Linked DNA regions of Homo sapiens: region 1 is linked to region 2. The links are contacts of gene promoters, found by promoter capture Hi-C in blood cells and fetal thymus (Javierre and others, 2016). All regions are on one chromosome and are shown on one strand. Each heading gives the region's core, a stretch centred on a gene start or on the middle of the fragment in contact. The rest is flanking DNA. Distances are from core to core; before and after follow the strand shown.

Region 1 (5,506 bases), core at 359-2,858, 260 kb before region 2:
TTGTAAGATGAAAGATTATATAGGGAAAAAAATTGATTATGTTTTTCCAGAATATTTTGTTATTCCCTAAAATATTCTGGAGATAAGCTTTTCTTTTTTATATGATTTGGAAAGGAAATATTCTCTAACATTTATTTCACCTATTGACTGTCTGAGAATGCAATAATTTCTGTATTGAACCACAGCATATAACATAGAAGATAAAATCTGGTCTAGATTTTCACCAAATTAGGATCCATTTATTATTTCTTTATTTTTGTCAACTTCTTTCCTATAATTTTTCCTGATTCCTTAGCATGCTTTCTCTGTATTGTGTCAGAAACAAATACAATATTTGTTGTTGGAGATCTCAGAAATAACAGGAACAGCAGTCATAGTATATACTCCTCACCTCCAAGAGGAAGAGAATCCTTCCTCAGTTCAGCTCTTCCTGGTGCTTTTCATACCTCTTTTCTTTCTTCCTCCTCCTGCTCTTACATACACACTCTTAGGTCAAGGCCATGGACATTTTCCCTGGACCATAGTACAAAGAGCGTATGGATGGCTTCCCTTTCTCTCAATTCTGTTTTCTAACACCGAAGACTAGATTGTACTAGATCCTGCCTCTGCTTGGGAGAAGTTCCAGCATGTGTGTTCTTATTGTCTTTCTTTCCCTCCTTGTCTCTTTCCCTAATTCTACTCTTTGGGTTCTATTCTAATAGGAGAAAAAGCGGGAGGGCAGCATTCCTAGAGATGTAAGAAAGGTCGGGGCTGTGAAACTAGGCATTGGGTCAAACGCTCCCTCTTTTGTTCTAGGTCTGTGTTGTGCTTGTTTGCTTCTCACCATACTGGCTTTTCTTTTTCATCAGAATGTTAAGATTCTTCTATATATGGGCCTGAACTTAGAAGGAAAGATTGAATAAGCCGTTTGATCAACTTTAATTGTTTGCATCTAGGCCATCTTTCACTTCCCTTCTATTTCAAACATGCAATGACTAAAGATTTATTAGATACAAGAATTCTATGTTTAATTAAATAGTTCAGTCTAACCACTTAAATGGTAGAGTTTTAAAAATTTTTTTCTTAGAGTTGCCATAGATAATAAGGTTAAAAATGGTCAGTTCCCTATGCTAAATTGTAGCGGAGGATTGTCAGATGTAAGTAGCTTCATCCCAGCATAGTATTTTTTCTCCTTAAACTGGATCCTCTCTTTATACTATCCTTTTTGACATTTGGTCCTATTTATGTCTAAGGTCTTCTCTTCTGCATTTCCAAATTAGCAAAATATCTGTGACATTAACATTGCTTTAAGGAATGCTCAGATTTTGCATAATACAAACACAGTCTTACAAAATGTCATCTAGTACTCAGCTAGCCAATTTCAGGTAACTTCTTCCACTTCTAGATTCATTACTCACTCAATCCTGTTCCCCAGATTCCTTTTATATTAATGTCTTCTGATTGAGTATGTTGTTTTTATAGGCAGTCCTTTTATTTTCACATATTATATTGTTTCTTAGGTGGGTGAAATTATAAACATAATACATGCTCTGAAATTAATTTTAACTTAGTGGCACAACCATTATTACACTATAATCACTGTTACCTCATAGTTTCATAACTCAGATAATTCAGTACCCATCAGTAATATTAATTAAGCTAGTGGATATATGTATTCCTATTTATATTTAATAACACTTTTATAATGTAAAATCATTTTTACTATGTCACAGTAATCACATTTGTTTTTCTCTGTAGGGCATACTACTCAGTGTATTATGGACATCTTTCTTGGTTAAAATTTGGCATTAGAGTCTTTTGTAAATTACTTAATATCAGAAATGACAGGAATTCTGTTTTTGAAGACTTATACTTTATTTTCATAATTTGGTCTCTGTTCCACAATTTCATTTCAATTTGGTTTTGTGTATTTTTTTTTCAGTATTAGACAAAAGACACAATGTCTTAAGGCTTTTTGTGAATACTTCTGATTTGTCATTTTACCTATGCAAAATATAGGCTATATGTTAGCATATATATGGGTAGCCCTAATGTCAGTTTTACTTTGAAAATAGATCCAGAGTTTATGTAAACCATAATTATAATTTTGAACGTTGTTTAAAAATAGGGTTATGTGATTATATGTGAATTATATAGCAATAAAGCAGTTATTTTAAAAAAAAGCAAAATGGGTGCTCTATATGGATGATACCGACGACTTTGAGTTTATATCACTGTAAGGAATATCCACAGTTGTTAAGAAGCCATCGTTCCAATGGCTTGTGTTATGTATGCATCTGAACCAAAAATGTTTCTGTTAAATCCAAAGTGAACTTGAAGTAGTCTTTTAATTTGTTCACTCATGTTGTTCAACATCAGGACTATTGTTTGAGAAACAAAAAGATCTTAATTATCAAGACTTGTTGAGGAACTGGATGTTTAAAATTTTATTAGGGTGGTGCAAAAGTAATTGCAAATTTCATCATTAAAAGTAATGGCAAAAACTGCAATTACTTTTGTACCAACCTAATATCAAAGCTGGGGGAAAAAAGGCGTTTTTAATTTTATAATAGCTATATTGAGATATAATTCACATACCATAAAATTCACCCTTTTAAAGTATACAATTCAGTAGTTTTTAGTGTATTCACAGCTGTGTAAGTATCACCACATGCCTTTTTAAAGGAAATCTTTACGAACTGTGGTACTTGTATCAAAAAATAGAGCATTTTGAACATAATTTGTTAAAATTCATTTGAATTTTGCTTTTGCTTTTATAAATAAGGAAACCAGCCCACATCAACTTTGGATATATTAAATACCACTTGTATTTGGTGGGAATTTACTTGTTTGGTTCTGGTTATATATTTAGTATGGATTGGCAAGGGTTAGGATTGATGCCCTTGTTCCCCTTCACATACTTCTAAATTTGTAATTTCTTATAACCAAAGCAGCTCTTCACATTTAAAAAATTATGAAATCGATAATGTACAAAGTAAATTTAACAGTTGTCCTCTTTTTGAAGTTATAAATGATAAACTTCAAAAATACCTTTAATGTGAGTACTGTTATAAAGTGAAGTTTGTAGAAATATCTCTTTGGTCCTCTATTATTCATGATCGATTTTCTGTTACACTGGCCATAGGGAGGCTAAGCTTGAAATGGTAAACATCAATTTTGAAGTCAGCCCTTCTAGGAAACAAAGATAGCACCCTGGAGAATAGTGCCTAAATATAGAAAAAAATATGAGAGCTACAAATTTTTGTATGTACTTGTCTTTTTTTTAATTTTATTTTGAGATAGAGTTTCGCTCAGTTGCCCAGGCTGGAGTCGATCTCGGCTCACTGCAACCTCTGTCTCCTGGGTTCAAGCAATTCTCCTGCCTCAGCCTCCTGAGTAGCCAGGATTACAGGCGCGTGCCACCATACGCAGCTAATTTTTGTATTTTTAGTAGAGACGGGGTTTCCCCAGGTTGGCCAGGCTGGTGTCAAACTCCTGACCTCAAGTGATCTGCCTGCCTTGGCCTCCCGAAGAGCTGGGATTACAGGCATGAGCCACTGCACCCGGCCTAGCCTGTATGTACTTTTCTATCTCCCCTCTTTCCTGATGCACTAATAAGTATTCTCCCAGAATGATGAGAATTTGTCGTTGAATATAAAAAAAATTTTATTTTAAGGTAGAGATGCAAATAGGAGTTGCTGAGCCTTATTTTTCTTGCTTCTTTATATTATAGCTTCTGATTGGTTAAGAAAGAAACGTGTGGTTTTGCATTTATCTTAGCAGCATCACATGCTGTTTGTAAACAGGAGTGCCTTCTTAGTTAACTTTTGTAGCCTTTACTGAATTTTTAGCTCTCTTTAATTCTCTCCCCAAGGCTTTTTGTACTAAACTAAAATATATAATTATCTTTTTTAGCATGTTCCTTTTAACAACACATTACAGAGTACAAGGGCTTCCAAATCTGACATTTTCTTTGAATCATTGGTTATCTTGTTACTTTTTCTTTCTTACAGTAAAACTCCATTAATCTCTGTTTGTTTTGCTTGGCTAGTAATCGGTCATCACAAAAATATGATGAATTATTGATTCAAATGAAACTGACATGAAAATATTTTGATAAATATGAAATGGAGGGGAAAAATGATGTAAAATTACATTTGTGCATTTGAGAAAAAAATAAATGGCTGTGGATTTTCCCTAGAATGTTGCAAATGCTGTTAATTGCAGGGTGGTGTGGAGTTCTGGTGCAGTTGTAGCCAGTCTGTTTTCCATCTGTCCCCTTCCAGGACTTCAGATGAGTCAAAACCCCATCCTAGTCCTTTCAGGAGCTTCCTTGATGTTTTTGTGGAACTTGTCATGAAAGACCATACCTGTGAATAAATAAACCATTTACCACTTTCTACAATTGACATGATATACATATAAAGAAATTACACATTTAGGAAAAAGTAAATAATCTCAACAGGTAAATAAAATTCACACAGTTTTTGTATTTTTTAAAAAACAGAATGAACAAAGAAGTGAATGATACAAGGCAATACAATTTATAAATGAAAACATGGAAAATATTCAATTTTGCTGGTCATAAAAGAATTATTAAATTGTCAGGGGAGAAAAACCAAGTTTGCAATTGTCTGGTGAAACTGGTAGGATTATACATTGTGGGTGGCAGTGTCAATTGATGCTGTGATGCTTTTTGAAGATAATTTCATAGCACATTTCAAGTGCCACAGATTTTTTCATATCTTTTCACTTAAGATAAATTTCTAAAAGTTGACTGATTTAGGAATTAAGCCCTTCAAATGGGAAAGGCTTTATATGTAGATGTTCATTGTAGTATCACTTGAAATACTGGAAATAAGTAATATATCCAACAGTACAGGAATACTTAAGTATATTCTGATTTTTCAGCATATTGAAGTATTGTGTTAGACAAAATGGTAATTTTGAAGAATAAATAGCAACTTAGAATAATGCTTATCATATAATGTATGAAAACAGAATTCCGAATTCTGTCTGTGGTCAATATAACTCAAATTATTTATGGGTTGTTTCCAGAAATATGAAATAAACATTGTCGAGGTTGTTGACATTTAAAGTAATTTAAAACAATTTTTGTTTCTGCAATAAAATTGTTTCTAGGTTTATATTTTAAGGATTAAACATTTTTTTTCTTCTTCTTCCATGAATAATCACTAGCCAAACATTTTGGGATGCAAAGGGTTATAGCTAGACAAAGAAGCATATTGACTGCAGGTCAGCTAGGAATATTTAAATACCAAGAAGGAGGGAAGGATAAATCATGAGTAGTCCTTTTGTTTTTTTCCTACTTCATGATGTCCACCCAATTATCTGTTCCCATGTCAGTGTTGTCTTTAAGAAGCAATATGCCACAATAGACTGAGCACAGGATTTAGGCCGGAAGGCTGGGTTCAAAATCTGACTCTTTTGTTTGTTAGATATGTCACTATTAGCAAACAATTTATCTTACCTTTTCTGATTTGTTAAAGAAGTGTTGGGAGGATTA
Region 2 (4,831 bases), core at 51-2,550:
TGGAAACTAACTTTAGAATATATTTCTTAAAATGAATGATTCATCGGATATAGTCCAAATACTATTAGCTAATCAAATTGTGAAATTCTAATTAAATGGCTACTTAAGTTTAATCTATTTAAAAATCACAGGCAGGAGGCTAAACACAGAGAAAGGGTTTAGACCATTTGGTTCTAGCTTTTATAAATTGGTTTAAGACTATTAAGCTTACTTTCACTCATTTTATTTTGTAATTTTATAAGTCTCATTTATTTGGCTCTAAATTCTACATCTGGGTATTTAAGGAGCTCGACCTTCCAAACTGTTAATATTAACTTCTTGGAAGCAATCCCTCCCACATTAGCGCTTTTTCTCAATTTGGGTACAATCAAGGGGGAAACAATTGGATATCCAAGGGCTCCTTCTTTTAAATAGCAGCCCAGGAAGACAAAAGTGAGAAAGAAAAAGAGGAGCATCTTTAACCAGCAACCTTGAAAAAAGGCATCCCCAACAGCTGTCGCCAACTCAGCTGGCTCGCTCCCATTTCTCAAAACACCGCCTGGACGCCTTGGTCAAAAAAAGAAAAAGAAAAGAAAAAAAACCAGATTCCCGCTTCCCTGGGACAGGGAGCTCCCTTTTGTAGAAGTAGCTAAAGAAAGCGAGGCGCCCCACGGGATTTCATCTCGTCGTCAAGGCAGCGCCAACCCCAGCCGTCCGGCGCAAGGAAAGCTCCGGCGGGCCCGGAGCCCACGGCGGCCCCAGCCTCCGGCAGAGCAGCCCCGGCAGAGCCCGGAGCCCCGCGGCCGCAGAGTTCCGGCAGCGACCCCGGACGGCCCGGCGGGCGTCCCCCGGACCGCGGCGGAAGGCGGGAAGACGCGGCTCGACTTACAGTGACACCATCCTAGGTGACAGCACCAGTGCAGCTTGAAGCACTTGCCATGGCTGTGCGTGGCACAGATAGACAGCCCGTCGCACGGCTGGAAGTCGGGTCTGCGGGCGGCGCAACTCCGCGCCAGGGCCTGAGCCTCATCTAGTTTCTCGCTCTTCCAACCCCGCTCCGACGCCGGCGAGGCCGCCGCACTCATTTCCTCTCCCTCCGCGCGGAGCCGACACCGGGAGCCCGGGAGAAGCGACGTCTGGGTGGGCAGGAAGCCGAGCCGGCTGCGGACGCGGGAGGGCGCGGCACGGGCCGGGAGTCACGCCAGCACGCGGCGGCGGCGGGAGCGCGGCGGTCCCAGGCTCGAGGAGGAGCCGCCCCGGGCGCTGCGACCGGGTCCGGGCTGGCAGCCTCCCTCCCTCCGGCGCGGCGCGCGCCGCGCCCCACGCGCACACGCACGCGCACAGGCGCGCGCCGGTCGGCCCCGCGCGACGTTCCTCAGCGAGCCCGGCCTTCTCACACACACGCCGCTGGGGAGCTTGGCCGTCGGCGTCCCCGCCGGTCACAGCGAGGTCCTCCTCACATACTCACTCCTTCCTCGGAGAAAGACCCCGACGGAGGGCCGTGGTGAACACACACTCCTCGGCCGCTTTGTACTCACATGCACGCCAGCCTACATATGCACTTCCCCCCGAGTGACACTGGCCACCGAGAACTGACACACGCGTCCACACGCTCCACGGAGGGCTGCGCACACCTGGCCCACGCCCACCCGAACCTCCTAGTGGCCCGGGCCGGGTGCATCGCGTAGCGAGGATCTCACACACACAGCCTGTCCCCACAGGCGTCTCACATCTCCCTCGTACACACCTCCCCGTGTCTGGGCATGGAGCCCCTGGGAGGCGCGCACACGCTCGTGCACACGCGCGCACTCCCCCCACCCAGGGCGGGCCTCCTGCCCCAGCGCGGCCACAGGGCGCGTCAGGGGCCAGCACCGCCAACCCCTGCCCGCCTCGCCCCAAACCCCAGGCCAGTGCGCCCGGGCCTTCCCGCGCCCGCCCCAACCTTCGCCGGGACCGCAGCCCCTCCCCCTTCTCCTCCCACCCCCGCCTCCGTTGAGCGGGAAAGCAACAAAGCTGGGTGCATTGATGTGTGTGTGTGTCTGCGTATGTGTAGTTTGGTGTGCATGGGATGTGTGTGTTGCGTGCGTGTGTATGATTATTTGGAGTATGTATGGTGGGTATGCGTGTGTGGTTGTGTGTGGTTAGGTGTGTTCATGGTACATGGTGGGTGGTATGCGTGATGCAAGTGACTGGTGAGGTGTGTGTATACGTGTGTATGTGAAATGAATGTTATAACTGAGGTGGAGTGTGGGTGGTGTGTGTGTGGTTGAGTGTGTGTGGCGTGCAGAATATGTATATGTGTGTAGTTGGACGTGCATGTGCTTGTGCACGTGTTGTGGGGGTGGGTATGCTTAGTAATACAGAGTGGTGTGTGTATGGTATATGTGTGGCAGTGCAGTGCGTGTATCTGGCATGTCGAGTGTGCACATGGCATATACGGATCAAATCGGGTGTGTGTGGTACATAGGAGTGGGTGGGCACACAAACAGGACTCATGTATGCGGAGGACTCTGCCTTTCTGTGTTAGCGCCTGCTCTGGCCAGCAGGTGTGACTGACCCTGTGGTGGCTGCGGCTTCCCCACACAGTTGGCTCGCACTCTTCCCTCCTGGGGACAAGTTGCTCCAAATAGATTTTCCATGCCAGGCTCTGCTGCTGAGAACCGACCCCAGGCTGGATTCACTGAAGAGGAAACAAACCATTTGCTCCCATGGTGCACTGCTGGGAATTAGTGTTTCCCTGCAACAAGGCCAGAACCCAGCCTTGAACACAGAAGAGGAGGGGACACCCCCTCCTTATTTGCCAAACGCACAGAAGAATGCTTGTTCAAGGAACAAGGCTTTCAGCACAAACACTGTGTGGGAACATGTTTATGCCCAGGTCCACTTTCTCCTTTATGCCTTTCCTGCTTTGCACTGACAAGAGACTCATCATGGTTTTGAAACAACCAAATTCATCCTCAAGCTTGAAAATCCTTGCTGCCATAAGCAATCTTTCATAATTTTCCCTTTTATGTAACCTTGGCTTGAGAAGGGAAATGTAATTTGCATATATCTGACTCTGGTGAAATCTTCATTTATTAGGGATTGGGGAGAGACTCAATTTGGCAGCAAAAGTATTTTCCAGAAAGGTCTGAATCAAAATCACAAACTCTAGTTCCCCCATTAACCTAACATTGAAACAGTTGCAAACATGAAGAATCATCTCATCAGCTTCCACCCCAACTGCTCCCCGCCTCAAAAAAATCCTAAAGGAATACATCTCTGACACAAAATCTATGCACCCCTGCTGTTAACTTCACAGTCTGACCTACCTCAGAATAACGGAAGTAAAAGGCAGAGAAATCTTAATCAAAGAAATCCATACTCCATTATTACTGCAGCAAGCCAACCAACAATTTTTCAAAGGGGACTTTCCATCTGTTCTACCCTATTTTTCTCTTTCTCCAACCTATAACTCACTCTAATACTGCCCCTATCATAGAAGGCCTTATGACGGCATCCTCTCTGTATTTCAGTAACTAATACTTGTATGGGATCCTTCCCCTGACTTTTACCCCAGGGTGAACCATGTGGTAAGATTCCACAATATATGAAATAAACCATCTCAGCTAGTAAAAAATGAGCATGAGAAAGCATGCAATATAGCACTTTAGCTAGGAGGCAAGATGAATTATCCAAACACCTTATTTTAGGTTAGACACGTGATTTGAAGTTGAGAAGCCTTTACATTTTCTGTACCATGAAACTCATTCCATCACCTTGCCCTAAAGACGTTATTGATTTCTACTGTCTGGTGTGGAGCGGGAGGAGGTAATTGCTGTGACCTCTCAAATATATACACACAGCTTTCAGGATGTGTTGTTGGGATACGATTTTTAAATTTTTTATTATGAAACTTTCCAAAATATACAAACATAGAGAGATGAAGATAACCCCCCATGTACCCATGTACCCATCACCCAGTTTCAACGATTATGAACTCATTTAGAAAACCTTGTTTCATCTACAGCGCCACCCACTCCAGGCCCCCAACCTGTCCACTGGATCATTTTTAAGCCAATCTCAAACATCAAATCGTTTCATCCATTAATATTTTGGTGTATATCTCTAAAGGAAATTTTAAAATCTCTAACCATAATTATTGCATAATAGCATACAATTTGATCATAAATATGAACTTGTCCTGTAGCTGCTGACCACCTCTCCAGCTCCCCTTTAAGAATGCTACTCCCTGCCAGGCACAGTGGCTCATGCCTGTAATCCCAACACTTTGGGAGGCCAAGGCGGATGGATCACCTGAGGTCAGGAGTTCGAGACCAGCCTGGACAACATGGTGAAACCCCATCTCTACTAAAAATACAAAAATTAGCTGGGCATGGTGGTGCGCACCTGTAATCCTGGCTACTCAGGAGGCTGAGGCAGGAGAATCACTTAAACCCGGGAGGTGGAGGTTGCAGTGAGTCGAGATCGCACTGCTACACTCCACCCTGGGCCACAGAGTGAGACTCCATCTCAAAAAAAAAGGAATGCTACTCCCTGCCAGGCACAGTGGTTCATGCCTGTAATCCCAACACTTTGGGAGACCAAGGCGGGCAGATCGCCTGAGGTCAGGATTTCAAGACCAGCCAATATGGCGAAAACCCATCTCTACTAAAAATACAAAAATTACCCGGGTGTGGTAGCGCGCACCTGTAATCCCAGCTACTCAGGAGGCTGAAGCAGGAGAACCACTTGAACCCGGGAGGCAGAGGTTGCAGTGAGCTGAGATTGCACCACTGCACTGCCTGGATGACAGAGTAAAGCTCCGTCTCAAAAAAATAATAATAAAATAAAATAAAATAAAAAAGAATAC

What was found. The method cuts DNA at HindIII sites, captures the fragments that hold promoters and counts their contacts. A CHiCAGO score of 5 or more calls a contact.
Region 1: a contact is called between a fragment that was not itself captured here and the fragment with the promoter of C3orf70 in region 2, in 3 of 17 cell types (endothelial precursors, megakaryocytes and erythroblasts). The highest score is 11.4, in endothelial precursors.

Annotation. Positions count from the first base shown.
Region 1 is chr3:184,888,969-184,894,474 of GRCh38, forward strand. The region is part of intron 22 of VPS8 (VPS8 subunit of CORVET complex); the gene reads left to right. Among named protein-coding and RNA genes, the nearest start is that of VPS8, 80 kb to the left of the region's middle. The HindIII fragment of the contact is 3,047 bases long and covers 86-3,132 here.
Region 2 is chr3:185,151,760-185,156,590 of GRCh38, forward strand. It overlaps C3orf70 (chromosome 3 open reading frame 70), which reads right to left and starts at 1,301. Exons shown (of 2, transcript NM_001025266.3): 1 at 869-1,301. The coding sequence starts at 1,064. RefSeq lists a silencer at 707-926 and an enhancer at 1,347-1,486. The HindIII fragment of the contact is 2,735 bases long and covers 205-2,939 here.